Regions from separate parts of the Homo sapiens genome. Here region 1 is linked to region 2. The links are contacts of gene promoters, found by promoter capture Hi-C in human tissues and cell types (Jung and others, 2019). All regions are on one chromosome and are shown on one strand. Each heading gives the region's core, a stretch centred on a gene start or on the middle of the fragment in contact. The rest is flanking DNA. Distances are from core to core; before and after follow the strand shown.

Evidence for each region. Contacts are between HindIII fragments. The study calls those that stand out against the background at their distance.
Region 1: a fragment that was not itself captured here is called in contact with the fragment with the promoter of WFDC6 in region 2 in 1 of the 25 tissues and cell types used here (H1 embryonic stem cells).

What each region holds. Positions count from the first base shown.
Region 1 is chr20:45,475,378-45,478,077 of GRCh38, forward strand. All of the region lies in intron 2 of WFDC2 (WAP four-disulfide core domain 2), which reads left to right. Among named protein-coding and RNA genes, the nearest start is that of WFDC2, 7.0 kb to the left of the region's middle. The HindIII fragment of the contact is 2,290 bases long and covers 116-2,405 here.
Region 2 is chr20:45,538,101-45,540,800 of GRCh38, forward strand. It overlaps WFDC6 (WAP four-disulfide core domain 6), which reads right to left and starts at 1,382. Exons shown (of 3, transcript NM_080827.2): 1 at 1,217-1,382. The coding sequence starts at 1,307. All of the region lies in intron 3 of EPPIN-WFDC6 (EPPIN-WFDC6 readthrough), which reads right to left. It overlaps EPPIN (epididymal peptidase inhibitor), which reads right to left. Exons shown (of 4, transcript NM_020398.4): 4 at 2,526-2,700. It overlaps LOC107987282 (a long non-coding RNA gene), which reads left to right. Exons shown (of 4, transcript XR_001754641.3): 3 at 436-579; 4 at 1,975-2,287. It also overlaps the pseudogene HSPD1P21. The HindIII fragment of the contact is 28,992 bases long and covers 1-2,700 here.

The DNA.
Region 1 (2,700 bases), core at 11-2,510, 63 kb before region 2:
TCTTTGTTCTCATTGGTTTCAAAGAACTTATTTATTTCTGCCTTGATTTTGTTATTTACCTAGTAGTCATTCAGGAGCAGGTTGTTCAGTTTCCATGTAAGGTTATGCGGTCTTGAGTGAGTTTCTTAATCCTGAATTCTAATTTGATGGCACTGTGGTCTGAGAGACTGTTAGGATTTCCGTTCTTTTGCATTTGCTAATTAGTGTTTTACTTCCAATTATGTGGTCAGTTTTAGAATAAGTGTGATGTGGTGCTGAGGAGAATGTATATTCTGTTGATTTGGGGTGGAGAGTTCTGTAGATGTCTATTAGGTCTGCTTGGTCCAGAGCTGAGTTCAAGTCTTGGATATCTTTGTTAATTTTCCGTCTCATTGATCTGTCTAATATTGACAGTGGGGGTTAAAGTTTCCCACTATTATTATGTCGGAGTCTAAGTCTCTTTGTAGGTCTCTAAGAACTTGCTTTATGAATCAGGGTGCTCCTGTATTAGGTGCATATATATTTAGCATAATTAGCTCTTCTTGTTGCATTGATCCCTTTACCATTGTGTAATGCCCTTCTTTGTCTCTTTTGATCTTTGTTGGTTTAAAGTCTGTTTTATCAGAGAATAGAATTGCAACCCCTGATTTTTTTTTGCTTTCCATTTGCTTGGTAAATATTCCTCTATCCCTTTATTTTGAGCCTATGTGTCTTTGCACTTGAGATGGGTCTCCTGAATACAGCACACCAATGGGTCTTGACTCTTTATCCAATTTGCCAGTCTTTGTCTTTTAACTGGGGCATTTAGCCTGTTTACATTTAAGGTTAATATTGTTATGTGTGAGTTTGATCCTGTCATTATGATGCTAGCTGGTTATTTTGTCTATTAGTTGATGCAGTTTCTTCATAGTGTCGATGGTCTTTACAATTTGGTATGTTTTTGCAGTTGCTGATTCCAGTTGTTCCTTTCTATGTTTAGTGCTCCTTTCAGGAGACCTTGTAAGGCAGGCCTGTTGATGAGAAAAATCCCTCAGCATTTGTTTGTCTATAAAGGATTTTATTTCTCCTTCATGTATGAAGCTTACTTTGGCTGGATATGAAATTCTGGGTTGAAAATTCTTTAAGAATATTGAATATTGGCCCCCACTGTCTTCTGGTTTGCAGGGTTTCTGCAGAGAGATCTGCAGTTAGTCTGAAGGGCCTCCCATAGTGGGTAACCCAACCTTTCTCTCTGGGTGCCCTTAACATTTTTTTCTTCATTTCAACCTTGGTGAATCTGATGATTATGTGTCTTGGGGTTATTCTTCTCAAGGAGTATCTTTGAGGTGTTCTCTGTATTTCCTGAATTTGAATGTTGGCCTTTCTTGCTAGGTTGGGGAAGTTCTCCTGTATAATATCCTGAACAGTGTTTTCCAACTTGGTTCCATTCTCCCCATCACTTTCAGGTACATCAATCAAACATAGGTTTGGTCTTTTCACATAGTCCCATATTTTTTGGAGGCTTTGTTCATTCATTCCTTTTCATTATTTTTTCTCTAATCTCATCTTCATTCTTTATTTCATTAAATTGATCTTCAATCTCTGATATCCTTCTTCTGCTTGATCAATTCGGCTATTGATACTTGTATAGGCTTCATGACGTTCTCGTGCTGTGTTTTTCAGCTCCATCAGGTCATTTATGTTCTTCTCTAAACTGGTTAATCTAGTTAGCAATTCCTATAACCTTTTTTCAAGGTTCTTACCTTTCTTGCATTGGGGTTAGAACATGCTCCTTTAGCTTGGAGGAGTTTGTTATTACCCACCTTCTGAAGCCTACTTCTGTCAATTTGTCAAACTCATTCTCCGTCCAGTTTTGTTCCCTTGCTGGCGAGGAATTGTGATCCTTTGGAGAAGAGGTGTTCTGGTTTTTGGAATTTTCAGCCTTTTTGTGCTGGTTTCTCCCCATCTTCGTGGATTTATCTACCTTTGGTCTTTGATGTTGATGATCTTTGGATGGGCCTTCTGAGTGGACGTCCTTTTTGTTGATGTTGATGCTATTCCTTTCTGTTAGTTTTCCTTCTAACAATCAGGCCCCTCAGCTGCAGGTCTGTTGGCGTTTGCTGGAGGTCCACTCCAGACCCTGTTTGCCTGGCTATCACCAGCAGAGGCTGCAGAACAGCAAAGATTGCTGCCTGTTCCTTCCTCTAGAAGCTTTGTCCCAGAGGGGCACCCGCCAGATGCCAGCCAGAGCTCTCCTGTATGAGGTGTCTGTCAGCCCCTGCTGGAAGGTGTCTCCCAGTCAGGAGACACGGAAATCAGGGACTCACTTGAGGAGGCAGTCTGACCCTTAGCAGAGCTCAAATGCTGTGCTGGGAGATCTGCTGCTCTCTTCAGAACCGGCAGGCAGGCTGAAGCCACATCCACAGCTGCCCCTTCCCCCAGGTGCTCTGTCCCAGGGAGATGGGAGTTTTACCTATAAGCCCCTGACTAGGGCTGCTGCCTTTTTTTCAGAGATGCCCTGCCCAGAGAGGAGGAATCTAGAGAGGCAGTCTGGCTACAGCGGCTTTGCCGAGCTGTGTTGGGCTCTGCCCAGTTTGAACTTCCTGGTGGCTTTGTTTACTCTGTGAGGGGAAAACTGCCTACTCAAGCCTCAGTAATGGTGGACGCCCCTCCCCCTACCAAGCTTGAGAGTTCCAGGTCAACTTCAGACTGCTGTGCTGGCAGTGAGAATTTCAAGCCAGT
Region 2 (2,700 bases), core at 132-2,631:
GAGGGGAAGATATATTCCCTCAAGGCCTTAAAGGAGCCAGTGCTCCCCCTCCCCGAGACCAGGGCACCCCTCCAGAGTTAGAGAACTTTGTTTCCACTTCACCTATCCCCAGAAGGTAGTGGCCCTCAGGGGGCTCAGGAATTTCACAACACTGCTCACATCCCCAACCCCATAACAACTCACCATCGGATGCCTAAACCAACCCCTACCCCCTACCCGCACCATCTATGAGATTCCTGAGAGAAAGACGCATTCCTCTAAGACTGTTCTGGTCACTCAGCCTTGCTGTGCTTGGTTGCTCCCCCAGGAGGTGCTGTGGCTCTCGATGATTGAGATTAACATTTCTGGCATCAGATAGCTGGGCTTTTGAATTCTGTGAGACGCTTGGTGTGCCAGGCACTCTCTCTGAGCCTTGATTTCCTCATTTGCCCATAGGGTTGCTTTGAAGACTAACCAGCAACACAGTTTGACAAGCCATCGTCAAACTGCCTGGGGCAATGTAACGTAACAATGAGTAATATGGATGAAGCACTTACTGTGAGCTGCCTTTTCTCCTTAATCCTCATTACAAATCTATGGGTAAGTACTCTTAATATTCACATTTTGTAAACAGAAGAATTGGAAGCATAAGGAGATTATGTGAATTTGCCCAAGATCACACAGCTACTCAGGGGTGGAGCCAGGTTTGAACCTACAATGTGTGGCTCCTGAGTGCTCACTTTCAACCACTAATTTTCAGTGCCCAGTACAGTTAGCTGCTAATTGTGAGTCTTCACATTTCAGCATTCCAAGGGACTTCTGGAGACCATTCTTTAACCCAAAGACCAGGGTCCTCTGTGGGTATGGGTGTGGGGGCTGCAATGAGAACATTTGGAAGTTGACACAGGTGGTGTTGTGGGGAGCAGCCTGTTTTTCTTGTGGGAGACTTCCTTGGGCTTACTACTCCTTCTTAGTTCATTTCATGAGCTCTAGGTCCAGGCACCTCCAGGAAGAACTCTTTGGAATGGCAGCAAGGAGTCACTTGCCACAGATTTGGATGCCTGTATTCACCAAGGGAGTCTCTTACCAAGAGACTTCAAATAGCTCCCCTCTTTCCCACCTGGAATTCCAGGCAGAGGTGGAGAAAATAATTTCTCAGCTGCAAAATTATTCTTTGTTCCTTCCTCCCCACTGAGTTTCCTTTCCCCATTGCAAGGACGGAGTTCCCAATACTTACTGCCAAGGATGCCTTCAGCGTGCCCAGGTTCCTGGATGTCCCCCAAAAGGATGAATGGTACCAGGATTGGCAGAAGTCCTGAGAGTCCCATTTTAGGAAGTACTGGCCTGGTTGATGGCACCAAAACTAAGAACTGCTCCTCAGCAGCTCCTACATCTGCACTTTGCCTGCCCCGGTGTGGCCCAGCACCTTAAGAGACAGCCCTGGAGACAAGCCAGCCAGACTCCCCGATCAGGAACACCAGATCCCTGAGGCCATCAGTGGGACTACCTGGTACCTACACTGGGGGATAGGTGGCTCCTAATCCTCAGCAATCTGAGGCTTTCTGGTCTACCAGGGAAAGAGGGCACATGTTGTCTTGGGCTTTCCAGGCTCCCTTAGCAGAAGGGGAGGTTTAACTCCAGAGTCTTCCATTTCCCAGGGGGAGTTTGCAGGTTAACAGTATGCTAGCTCTCTTCCTTCTTTCTAATTTCACTCTTCTCCTGACATGTCTATTCTTATGTTTTATTTTTCTCACTCTGTTTCTTCTCTTTTCTGTGCATCTGTATGTCTTTTACTCTGTGCCTGTCTTTTTCTCAGGGAGTCTCTGTCTGTCTGAGTCTCTTTCTCCCCGCCCTTCACTTCCCTCTCTCTTCTTTCGTATGTAAAGATCAGTTACATTTATCCTTTAAGTCGTTTGATTTTGCAACAGTAAATAACTTCTTTCATTACTTTGGGACTTCTCCAACTCTGTTCTCCGTTTTTCCCTGTTGTCACAGCTACAGCATTGGATTAAAAGTCACACCCTGAAGCATTAACGCTTGAGCATCTGTACCAAGTTTTATATCCTTGGTATAAGCCCGAAGGAGGTGAGGAGCCAGTTACCTGGGCATCAGTTCCATCTGGCAAAGGACTGTGGGTAATGGAAGCATTTCTGCAGGGTGGCAGCAGGGTGTGTGTGCAGCAAGGCATGTCATCAGTGGTGAGTGAGAAGTTCATTCCTTTTTATGGCCGAATAATAGCCAATGCACATTGACAGCCTCCTACCTCTAGCATCAGTCCCTAATTTTCTGCTGTGGGTTTTCTCTGGCCCCCAGGGAGCTTGTATAGCTTGCAAGTATAACAGTTTGAAAGAGCGAGGGATTTAGTATCCCTGGCATCCAGTGGGCGTTGGGAATCAGTGGACAAATAGCTTAGCTTTCCCATCACTGGAGACAGATTAAGAAAATTTGTGGTCTGATATCCAGAATCTACAAGGAACTTAAACAAATTTACAAGAAAAAAAACAAACAACCCCATTGAAAAGTGGGCAAAGGACATGAACAGACACTTCTCAAAAGAAGACATTTATGCGGCCAACAAACATATGAAAAAAAGCTCAACACCAGTGATCATCAGAGAAATGCAAATCAAAACCACAATGAGATACCATCTCATGCCAGTCAGAATGGTGATTATTAAAAAGTCCAGAAACAACAGATGCTGGTAAAGCTGTGGAGAAACAT